Linked DNA regions of Homo sapiens: region 2 is linked to region 1. The links are contacts of gene promoters, found by promoter capture Hi-C in blood cells and fetal thymus (Javierre and others, 2016). All regions are on one chromosome and are shown on one strand. The core of a region is centred on a gene start or on the middle of the fragment in contact, and the rest is flanking DNA. Distances in the headings are between cores, read along the strand shown. Region 1 holds the start of PYCR2 (pyrroline-5-carboxylate reductase 2). Region 2 has its middle 22 kb from the start of ACBD3-AS1.

The links. Contacts are between HindIII fragments. The CHiCAGO score rates a contact against its expected background, and 5 or more counts as called.
Region 2: a contact is called between a fragment that was not itself captured here and the fragment with the promoter of PYCR2 in region 1, in 1 of 17 cell types (neutrophils). The highest score is 5.2, in neutrophils.

What each region holds. Positions count from the first base shown.
Region 1 is chr1:225,922,334-225,927,729 of GRCh38, reverse strand. PYCR2 (pyrroline-5-carboxylate reductase 2) reads left to right here and starts at 3,480. Exons shown (of 7, transcript NM_013328.4): 1 at 3,480-3,686; 2 at 3,959-4,029; 3 at 5,347-5,396. The coding sequence starts at 3,620. RefSeq lists silencers at 3,134-3,213, 3,354-3,443, 3,754-3,883 and an enhancer at 2,934-3,583. The HindIII fragment of the contact is 26,114 bases long and covers 1-5,137 here.
Region 2 is chr1:226,122,832-226,128,376 of GRCh38, reverse strand. It overlaps the pseudogene LOC112268255. Among named protein-coding and RNA genes, the nearest start is that of ACBD3-AS1, 22 kb to the left of the region's middle. RefSeq lists enhancers at 2,875-3,169, 5,404-5,545. The HindIII fragment of the contact is 2,467 bases long and covers 2,422-4,888 here.

The DNA of each region.
Region 1 (5,396 bases), core at 2,231-4,730:
GGTCAGTGGCTCACTTGCTGCCCTAAGTCCAAACTGAGGGGAGCAAGTGCTTTTGCTACTCCGTGTCTTATGTGGCCAGTCCTGGCTGGGGATGAAGCCAACACTGGGGGTCACCAACATGGCCTCTTTTTTTTTTTTTTTTTTTTTTTTAGACAGAGTCTCACACTGTCACTCAGCCTGGAGTGCAGTGGCACAATCTTGGCTCACTGCAATCTCCACCTCCCAGGTTCAAGCAATTCCCCTGTCTCAGCCTCCTGAGTAGCTGAGATTATAGGTGCCCGCCACCACATCCGGCTAATTTTTTGTATTTTTAGTAGAGATGGGGTTTCACCATGTTGGCCAGGCTGGTCTCGAACTCCTGACCTCAGGTGGTCCATTCGCCTCAGCCTCCCAAAGTTCTGGGATTACAGGTGTGAGCCACCGCACCCGGCCATCCTTTCTTAGGCTTTTGCAGTTCTCCCATTTCACCCTGGCTCCCGGAAGCGGAAACGGGAGATATCAACGCAAGGCAACCAGGTAAGGGATGGGTGTATGTAAGGGGTCAGAAAGGAGTGAGACACAAGTGTCCCCCACACCTCACTCCAAAACACACATTCAGCTTCAGCACAACCTCCTGTATTGCAGGTCAGATCCAGAGCTCCCCACAACAGACCACAGCCAGGAAAAGCAAAGGGCCCTGCAGTGCCCTGGTGGACTATGGGGAGGGTGAGTATCCTGCAGAGGAGCAGGCAGCATTAGGAAGTTGTGAAGGAGGGTAAACCCCCAACTTCCTCACTACCTGACAAAGACTCCTCTACAACAAAAGGGAGGCCAAATGCAGGCAAACAGAAATGAGACAAAGAGAAGAGGGGAAGTGCTGGCAGCGCAGTGTTCTAGTTCCATTCCTGAGGTCCTGCTCTCTGTAGGTGCCCCTTCTGGTCTGTGAGCTCCCCTGTGCCTCTCCCAAGCGCTGTACAGAAGCCCCCCTTTTCCTTCAGCCAGTTTGGTTTCTGCTGGGTTTCTGGTTTCAGAGCTTTACGCTGGTAACCATTAGGCTATGCTGCAACATGGCAGCTATGGGAGCTCTTAAAGCCCCAAACCACTGGACCTTACAAATCTCACTTCTGGGAGTCATGTTAAGAAAATAATGAGTCAGGCAAAGATTTTATCACAATAATATGAACAAAAATTTAAAAAATTGAAGGCCAGGAGTGGTGGCTCATGTCTGTGATCCCAGCACTTTGGGAGGCTGAGGCGGGTGGATCACCTGAGGTCAGGAGTTGGAGACCAGCCTGGCCAACATGGTGAAACCCCATCTCTACTAAAAATACAAAAATTGGCCAGGCGTGGTGACACATGCCTGTAATCCCAGGTACTCGGAAGGCTGAGACAGGAGAATCGCTTGAACCCGGGAGATGGAGGTTGCAGTGAGCCGAGATCATGCCACTTCACTCCAGCCTGGGTAACAAAGACTCCGTCTCAAAAATAAATAAATAAATAAAAATAAGAAATAATAATAAATTGATGTTTTATGAGGACAGGAACTTGTCTGTTTTGTTCATAGCTATACTCCCAGAACCTGGCTCAGTAAGTTATCTATTATATAAATCAATAAACCTAACATTGACCTTTGAATGGTTAAATCAGTAAGGTACATACATATAATAAGTAGTCATTAAAACTGTCTTAAATAACTTTTCAGTGACATTGGAAAATGCTCATGTCTACTAGAGAAATTTCAAAACTACATGTACATCATTTATTTCCAATGATGGAGAAAGTAGATATGCATAGGACATGATAGTGTAAGGAAATACACCAAAAATGTTTGTAAGAAACTATCTTTGGGAAGTATGATGTGGATGATTTTATTTTTACTTTTATCTCCAAACTTTCTTCAATATGTCTGTATTACTTTTCGAATTTAAAAAATACAGAGGCCAGGTGCTGTGGCTCACGCCTGTAATCCCAGCACTTTGGGAGGCTGAGACAGGCAGATCACCTCAGGTCGGGAGTTCAAGATCAGCCTGACCAACATGGAGAAACCCTGTCTCTACTAAAAATACAAAAAATTAGCCGGGCGTGGTGGCGCATGCCTGTAATCCCAGCTACTCAGGAGGCTGAAGCAGGAGAATCGCTTGAACCCGGGAGGTGGAGGTTGCAGTGAGCCGAGATCGTGCCATTGCACTCCAGCCTGGGCAACAAGAGCGAAACTCTGTCTCAATAAATAAATAAATAAATAAATAAATAAAACATAGCATTATTTTGCTTAATAGTAAATATTATATTTGGTCCTCACTTTAAAGGGTGCACAAACTGAGGGCCTGGGGACTTGCTCAGGGAAGTTCACAGAAAGCAGCCCCTTGCCTGGGAGTGGGGGTGTGCATTACACGGAAAGGACTAGAAAAGCTAGCAGAGAGACCATGGGAACTAAGGGTCCTCAGCTCTTCTGAGTCCTCTAGGAACGCCACCTTCTTCCTCTCTACTTCTGTCATTTGTTCCCTGCGGCCCCTTATATTTACTACTGATAGAAAAGGAAACATCACATTGGTGGAGCTTTTAAAAGCAAGAGACAGGTCGGGCGCGGTGGCTCACGCTTATAATCCCAGCACTTTGGGAGGCCGAGGCGGGCGGATAACCTGATGTCAGGAGTTGAAGACCAGCCTGAACAACATGGTGAAACCCCGTCTCTACTAAAAATACAAAAATTATCCGGTCGTGGTAGCGGGCGCCTGTAATCCCAGCTACTGGGGAGGCTGAGGCAGGAGAATCGCTTGAACCCGGGAGGCGGAGATTGCAGTGAGCCGAGATCGTGCCACTGCACTCCATCCTGGGCAACAAGAGTGAAACTCCGTCTCAAAAAAAAAAAGGCAAGTGACAGCAAGGGGCTGGGGGGTGCGGGATCGCGGAAGAGTCGGAGACTCGAACTTGTCCTTCTTGTATCTAGTTTGGACAAATTCGCGAGAAACACTCAAGTTCAAGTGAATAAGCCGCGGCTGACCACCCTGGTGCCGCCTCGCCGCCACCTGGTCTGAACCTCGCCGCCACCTGGTCTGAACCTACGCCAGGAGGGCCTCGTTCATCCCCGCAAATCGGCAACCTGGAGAATTCCTGTGGGCCTTGAGGGGCATCTGATGGCCAGCGCCAGAAATAATATTAGCCAGGCCTGGGCCAGGCCTCAGCCCTGAGCCCGAGGTGGCTTAGGGACGGCGACCTCAGCCTTGGGGTGGGGGGGGGGGGTGGGGGCGGCCGGGCGTCCTGGGCCGGCGGGCGCCTGGAGCTCACGCCAAGCTGCCACAGGGGCTTCCGGGACTCCAGCCCGGAGTTCCGCCCTCCAGTCGCGAGCGGAGGAGGCGGGCACGCGGCCTGGCTCGGGCCGCGGATTGGCCTGCCCCGAGATCCTGGCCACTGATTGGTCGCCCGGACGGGGCGGGGCCACGTGGCCTAAGGCGCCATCAGCCGCCCGGGAGATATCCGCCGGGGGAGAATAGGGTTGCACCATCCCAGAAGCTGCTGTTAGCTCGCCGGTCCTCGGCACGCCGCCCGTTCGCCCCTGCGCTGTCCGCCCTTCCCCTAGCGTTACTTCCGGTCCCTCGCTGAGGGGGTTCGTGCGGCTCCCAGGAGGCGTGAACCGCGGACCATGAGCGTGGGCTTCATCGGGGCCGGCCAGCTGGCCTATGCTCTGGCGCGGGGCTTCACGGCCGCAGGCAAGCGCGTGGAGGCGGGAGGCGGCTTCGCGGGCGGTCCCGAGGCCCGAGGGGGCCTCCGTCCCACCAGCATGAGCGAATGAAAGGGGAGTTTGCGTCCGGTGGGGTAGATGAGACTCTGGTTGAGCAGCAAGTGCGTCTTCTGTCCTCGTAGAGGGTTGAGGGGGAGAGGGAGACTGGCACTGTTAGGACGGCTCTGGGTTTTAGAGCCAGGGAAAGCGTGGTAACGGGCTGGGCCGCGACCCCTAGTTGAAAAGCTCTGTCTTCTGCAGGCATCCTGTCGGCTCACAAGATAATAGCCAGCTCCCCAGAAATGAACCTGCCCACGGTGTCCGCGCTCAGGGTAGGTGGAGCCGGGCGGAGTGGGAAGCGGGTGGAGGCCCAGGAAAAGGATGACCTGAGATGAAGTGAGTCTGGCCGGCCCCTGCGCCCAAGTGCTGGTCTTTGGCCGGCGGTGACCTTTACTCCAGGAACGTGACAATCTTTCCACCTTCTCTTGGGCAGCTCAATGTGGTGGGAACACCCAGGGAGACATAACTGGGGGTCAGATCCAGACACTGGAGTGGTAGAGGATTAACTGAGGTGATTATGTGATGAAAGCACCTGGCACATAGTAGGTACCTAATAAATACTCATTTTTTAAATTTTTTTTCAGACAGGGTCTTACTCTGTCGCCCAAGCTGGAGTGCAGTGGCGCGATCTCAGCTCACTGTAACCTCCGCCTCCCACCTCAGCCTCCCACCTCAGCCTCCCGAGTAGCTGGAATTACAGGCATCCACCACGCGCAGCTAATTTTTGTATTTTTGGTAGAGAATACTGTTGGCCAGGCTGGTCTCGAACTCCTGGCCTCAAGTGATCTGCCCGCCTTGGCCTCCCAAAGTGCTGGGATTACAGGGGTGAGCCACTGCGCTCAGCCATTTTTCTTAATAGACGAGTTGTATGACCTTAAAGTACTCAGCCACTTTGAGGCTATTTCCTCATTTACAACAGTGGCCACTTTGCTGTTATTCTGAGTCGTGAATGAGCATATTGGGAAGAATCTGGTGAGTTAGTTGTTCTGTTCTCCAAAAACATATTCCAAGTCTTCACCCAAAACCTGTGCTCTGTGGGAGAGGATGGCTGATGAGGCAGGTGACAGGCAGTGTCTGTGCCTAGGGTGGGCTGATGTCCCTAGCACTGGAGGGTCCTGCTTCTCAGTTTGGAGTCATAGAGGGATGGATGGCTTCCAGCCTAGCCCTGGACCACATGGAGACTGTGCGGTCCCCACGAACAAGCGGCCAGGGTTAGGATAGGGCCTGACTCAGCTGTGCTTTTAACGACCAGGTATTAGCATTTCCCTTTGCCCTGCCACTTTCACCATAGGGCCTTCTTACCTGGCAGAGGAGTGCCTTAGATACCAGAAGATTGGCAGGGAAGAAGGGCAGCCACTTCCTGGTTACCATGGAGAAGCTTGTCATGCTCCAAGCCTGTGCTTACTTGTCCAGTAGCAACAATGGGAAACTGTATTATTTGGGGTAGGGGTAGAACCCTGAGGGCATAAAGCTAAGAATTCCAGGCTGCATCTGGCAGAATCGGTTTGGCAGGGGTTCAGCTGCTCCCTGGGAGGCCTTGGCATAGCCAGGCTGCTCCAGCACTGTGAGCTGGGAGTCTCCTCTTGCAGAAGATGGGTGTGAACCTGACACGCAGCAACAAGGAGACGGTGAAGCACAG
Region 2 (5,545 bases), core at 2,406-4,905, 200 kb before region 1:
AGGCTGAGGCAGGAGCATCGCTGGAACCCGGGAGGCGGAGGTTGCAGTGAGCCGAGATTGCGCCACTGCACCCCACCCTGGGCAACAGAGCGAGGATTCATCTCAGAAAATAAAACAAAAAGTTGAACCAAGATTGCAAAGTTCCCTTCCAGCTCCAAAACTCAAGCCAGGGGCCCTGTGAGACTTTCCCGGAAGTCTGGGCCCTGAGGTTGCTGAGGGCGCTTCCATGCAGGTGCCGCTTCCATCCAGGAACTGAGCTCTGCCCTTCCGTTTGTTTGTTCACTTCACTCCTCCCCTAGAGGCTGAAGTTGCTTCTGGGAAGGAGGCTGGGCACTTCTGGGCTGAGCCTTGTTTCCATAGCACCCAGCCACCCTGCCAGGAAGACACAGGTTTCTCCTGGTTGACTGTGAGAGGACTTTGACCCGCGCTCCGTTTCCTGCTGGGCCAGACTTAGGAGGAGGTACCGGGGCAAGCAGCACAGTGGGACTTGCAGGTCCCGGACCCAGCCCTTCATTCAGACCAGTTGTTCTGGAAGTTTGGGCCCCAACCAAGAGCAACAGCAGCAGTATCAGGAAACTTGTTAGAAATGCAAATTACCGGACCCCACCCTGGACCTACTAAATTAGAAACTCTAGGGTGGGGCCAGCCATCTGTGTTTTTGTAAGTCCCCAGGTGTCTCTCATGCACACCAAAGTTTCAGAAACACTTTATGCATTGTGTGCATGTGTGTGTGTGTGTGTTTTCTTTTTTTTCTTTTTTTTTTTTTTGCAGGATTTGACAGAGTCTTTATCTGGCTTCTGTTACATCTTATTCTGACTCAGGTTTACGGACACAATGCTGGAAAACCAGTTCCTGCTCTACCCACGCCTCAACTTGTTAAGAAGAAACAGTATCTAACACCGAGGCACGTCACATCTTCGCCATTCCCACTTCCTTTCTGCCCTAGGCATTCAATGTATGCCACCGGGGGCCATCAGGACTAGGGCTCTGCAACCACGGCAGCAGACAGGTGTGAAGCTCAGAGTCCCTCCTAACAGCCTCCCTCCAGCGTCTTCTTGGCCGCGGCGGCGAAGCAGCTCCGCAGGGCCTCGAACTCCCGCGCGCAGAAGTCCTTACTCGGCCCCGCAGGCGGCCAGCCGCTCGGGGAAGGCGCGGAGGCAGCTTCGCATGCGGCCCCACACCGCTCCGTCAGCCGACATGAGCGGCTATTCCCAGCGCCCCTCATGTGTGTGTTTTCAAAATGAGGTTTTGCTCTGTCACTGAGGCTGGAGTGCAGAGGTGCCATCATAGCCCATTGCAACCTCCACCTCCTGGCCTTAAGCAGTCCTCCTGCCTCAGCCTCCCAAGTAGCTGGGACTACAAGTGTGTGCTTGTTTTTTCTTTTGTAGAGATAGGGTCTTGCTATGTTGTCCAGGCTGGTCTTGAAGCCCTGGGCTCAAGCAATCCTTCCACCTTGGCCTCCCAAAGCACTGAGATTATAAGCATGAGCCTCCATACCCAGCCCAAGAACCCCCACTTTATTGTGTGATCAATTGTTCCAGTTTGCCCAGGACTCTCAGTTTTAGCACTGGGACTCTCTCTTTTTTTTTTAGACGGATTCTTGCTCTGTCGCCCAGGCTGGAGTGCAGTGGCGCGATCTCAGCTCACTGCAACCTCCACCTCCCAGGTTCATGCCATTCTTCTGCCTCAGCCTCCCGAGCAGCTGGGACTACAGGTGCCCGCCACCACGCCCAGCTAATTTTTTGTATTTTTAGTAGAGACGGGGTTTCACTGTGTTAGCCAGGATGGTCTCGATCTCGTGACCTCGTGACCCACCCGCCTTGGCCTCCCAAAGTCCTGGGATTACAGGCATAAGCCACCGTGCCCGGCTTTTTTTTTTTCTTTTTTCTTTTTTTTTTTTTTTTTGAGACAATCTCGCTCTGTCATCCAGGCTGGAGTAAAGTGGCACAATCTTGGCTCACTGCGACCTCTGTCTCCCGTGGTTCAAGCAATCCTCCTACCTCAGCCTCCCAGGTAGCTGGGACTACAGGTGTGTGCCACCATGTCCAGCTAATTTTTGTATTTTTTTGTAAAGACAGGGTTTCACCATGTTGCCCAGGCTGGTCTTGAACTCCTGAGCTCAAGCAATTCACCCACCTCAATCTTCCAAAATGCTGGGAGTACAGGCATAAGCCACCGCTCTCACCCATTCATTCAGTTTTTCAAAATCAGATCTGAGCTCCAGTCCTGGGAGCCTGGGGCAGCTTCTGATGCTAGGAGAGGCACAGGCCTGGCTACCACCATGGGTAGCAGAGGAGTGGGGTCAGCTCTGAACTTAGGAGAGTGATAGGAGGGAGAGGAGGCTGGGAGAGTAACAGGAGGGAAGGAGGGAAATTCTGCTGCCGCCGCCGCCGCCGCCGCCGCCGCTGCTGCTTTGAAGCTTTCCTGGGTAAATGGTGACAAGGACCACAAACCTCCTTACCTGGGCGAGAGCTTTGGGAGGTTTCAAAGCACCTTCACTTACATCACCCTACTGGATTCCAAATTACTCCTTAGAGCAGTGCCCATAAGAAATACTGCATTTGTCCAGTTTCTATTTCCTCTGCCTGAGCTTGAGCTGCTTTGGTGGCAGGGACCATCCCAGTGTCCCCATCAAACCTTCAGTGCCCAGTAGACAGAACCCTTGCCCAATCTTCCCGTCCAAATCCTGCATCTTCTGCAGGAGCTAGTTCCTCTGCAGGTCCTGGCAATATGGAGCACAGGGTCCATAGTTTTCCTCCCACCTATGGATTTCCTCTGGGCCATCACAGCCTGTTCCACAGACTGAATTTCAGCTCCCTGTCTTGGCCAGGGCACATCCTGTCTAATCACTCATGTTCACCCAGCTTTGCACCCTCTTCAGCCTCCCCACGTTTAAGCGAGGCAGCTGGCGGTGCAGGAAGAATATTCATCCATCTCCTAGGAGCTCAGGAGTCAGACCCTGGGCCCAGACTCCTGCAGCAAGTCGGGGCTTCTGTCACAAGCGCCTCACCTTACTGGCTTTGGCGCCATCTAGTGGACGCATCTGGGTCTGCGGGGACCGCAGCCCTTCCTGTGACCCAGAAGCAAAACCAGCAATTTACCTGGCCGTACATTATTTTTGAGTCCCGAATCCCAAGAGTCCACTCCCAACCCAGCTCAGCATGTATTGTCCACTGCCTGCTTAGTGCCGGACCAACACACCTTCACCTCACATCAACAGGGACTCAAACAGAGCCTCTTCCCCTCAAATCCCAGCCCCATACTCAACTGTGTGCACAAAAGCAGGCATTCGTCCTAACAAAGCAGAATGAAACAACCCAAACTTCCCTCAAGATGGGGAGCATGCATTCTACGGAATATTATGAAATGGATAAAAGGGTTTGCTGGATTGGAAACGTCTCCAAAAGCACATTAAAGAACAATACATACCGCATGATGCCGTTTATTGGAAGAAACAAACCCAAGCCTGATCCACTGTTCGCATATCCGTGTGAAATGCAGAGGGAGGGCTGGACACACACCAAGCTAATCACAGGGACCTTTAGGGAGGGATGGGGGTGGGGTAAGGGTGAAAGAGGCCTTTCCTTTTACACACCTTTACTGTGTATCTTTTTATATTTCTAAGGCAAAAGGTAAATTAAACAACCCCTGTGTTAAAGGTGGAGAGTGTCCAGGTTCTTGGCATCTTGAACAAAGAATTGGAAGAGACACACAAACAAAGCAAGGAAGGAATGAAGATTTTATTGAAAATGAAAGTACACTCCACTGTGTGGGAATGGGCCTGAGTGTAGGATTCAAAAGGCCCTGTTACAGAATTTGGGGGAGTTTAAATACCCCCTAGAGGATTCATTGGTTACTTCGGGTATGCCCTATATAAACAGAGAGGATGAAGTAAAGTTACAAAGTCATTTACCTGATATGCCCTATGGAGAGGATATTTCCGGTTATAGCTGAAGTGTGAATGAGCCTTATGTTCCCTGCCTCCAGACCCTATTTTCCTGCCTCACCTGGTGCCAGGAGCTGAGTCGCTGCTGCTCTCCCAGGTGCTCCATGATGAGCAGTGCTGGCCTTCTGATCCGACTCTCCCACACCCACACCAGCTGCCTTCCTGAGCCACCAGGCTCCCCAGTGGTGGCTCCTCTCCTTTGACGGCCTTGTCACCTCTCTGCAGTCTCTTCCCCTCACACCTGGCCGCTGCAGCCCCTCAGTGGTGAGCATTCGGTGGGCTGATCAGCATCCGCACACCGCTCCTAGTAAGGGGCAATCCCCATTTTGTGAGCTGTCATGGGAGCCAGGGCCCCTCCTCCCACCTCAAAGGCTAAAGGGGGCAGCATTCCTTCTCCCTTCCTGGGCATCTGGCTAACCCAGGCAAAGATGCAGGGACAGGAGCCCTCCCTCCCCGCTGTGGTGCCCAGCACCCCCGCCCATCATTACAGCCAATGCCTGTGGAGTTGTGGCAGGGGCTGCATTCAGCGATGCTGCAGCCCAGTAGTGGTGGTGACCACAGTCACCTCCCAAGACTGTCCCCGGCTGTGGCTGTGGCCATCCAGACTCCTGGTCAGCTCCCTGAGCTCCCCACAATACTCCCAAGGACTCCTTTTCTACTTAGTCATCAGGGTTGATTTCGATTGCTGGCCACCTCCCTTTGGGCCCTGGCCAGGCCTGTGGAGCTAGTCCTTTCCAAGTGTCACAGGTGAGTGACTGTGTGTGAGGGACAGCGGGTCAGTGTGATAGATAACCTGTGGTCCACATAGGGAGATGGTGCCATACCAAGAAACTGCCAGGACCGAGATGTTAAAGAGTCAGGGGATGTGACTTGCTAAAGGCAACCACGGGAGATGACTGTGCTGGGAAGATGGTTTCAAGAAAACTGGGAACCTAGGAAGCTTGGTGAGCACCCACTTGGACCTTCCCTGGCCTGGCAGGGCCTCCCCTTGGAGGGATAGCCCTGCAGCTTCCCCATCAGTGGGCAGGCTTGGGGAGGGCCTGGAGAGGAGAGGGGTCCCCTAAACACACCCAGCCCCAGGGCCTCAGCAGACAAGTGCTGGTCACCTATTATTTGTACTTATTGTAGTAAACAGTCACTTTTAGGCTGGGGGCTCACGCATGTAATCCCAGCACTTTGGGAGGCCGAGAGGGGCGGATCACTTGAGCTCAGGAGTTTGAGACCAGCCTGGCCAACATGGCAAAACCCCGTCTCTACTAAAACTACAAAAAAATTAGCCGGGCGTGGTGGCGGGCGCCTTGTAATCTTAGCTACTGGGGAGGCCGAGGCAGGAGAATGGCGTGAACCCGGGAGGCGGAGGTTGCAGTGAGCCGAGGTTGCTCCCCTGCACTCCAGCCTGGGCGACAGAGCGAGACTCCATCTCATAAAAAATCACAACAGTCACTTTTATGAGCAGTGCTCATTTCACCCCGCCTCTACCACACACTCGGCAGGGCGGCTTCACAGGTGCCCTTCCTGCTGTCTGGGACCCTTTGCCAGACTCCTCCCCACCTGGCCACCCTTCTTTCCAACCAACAACGTGGCTCCTCGGTTCCTCCA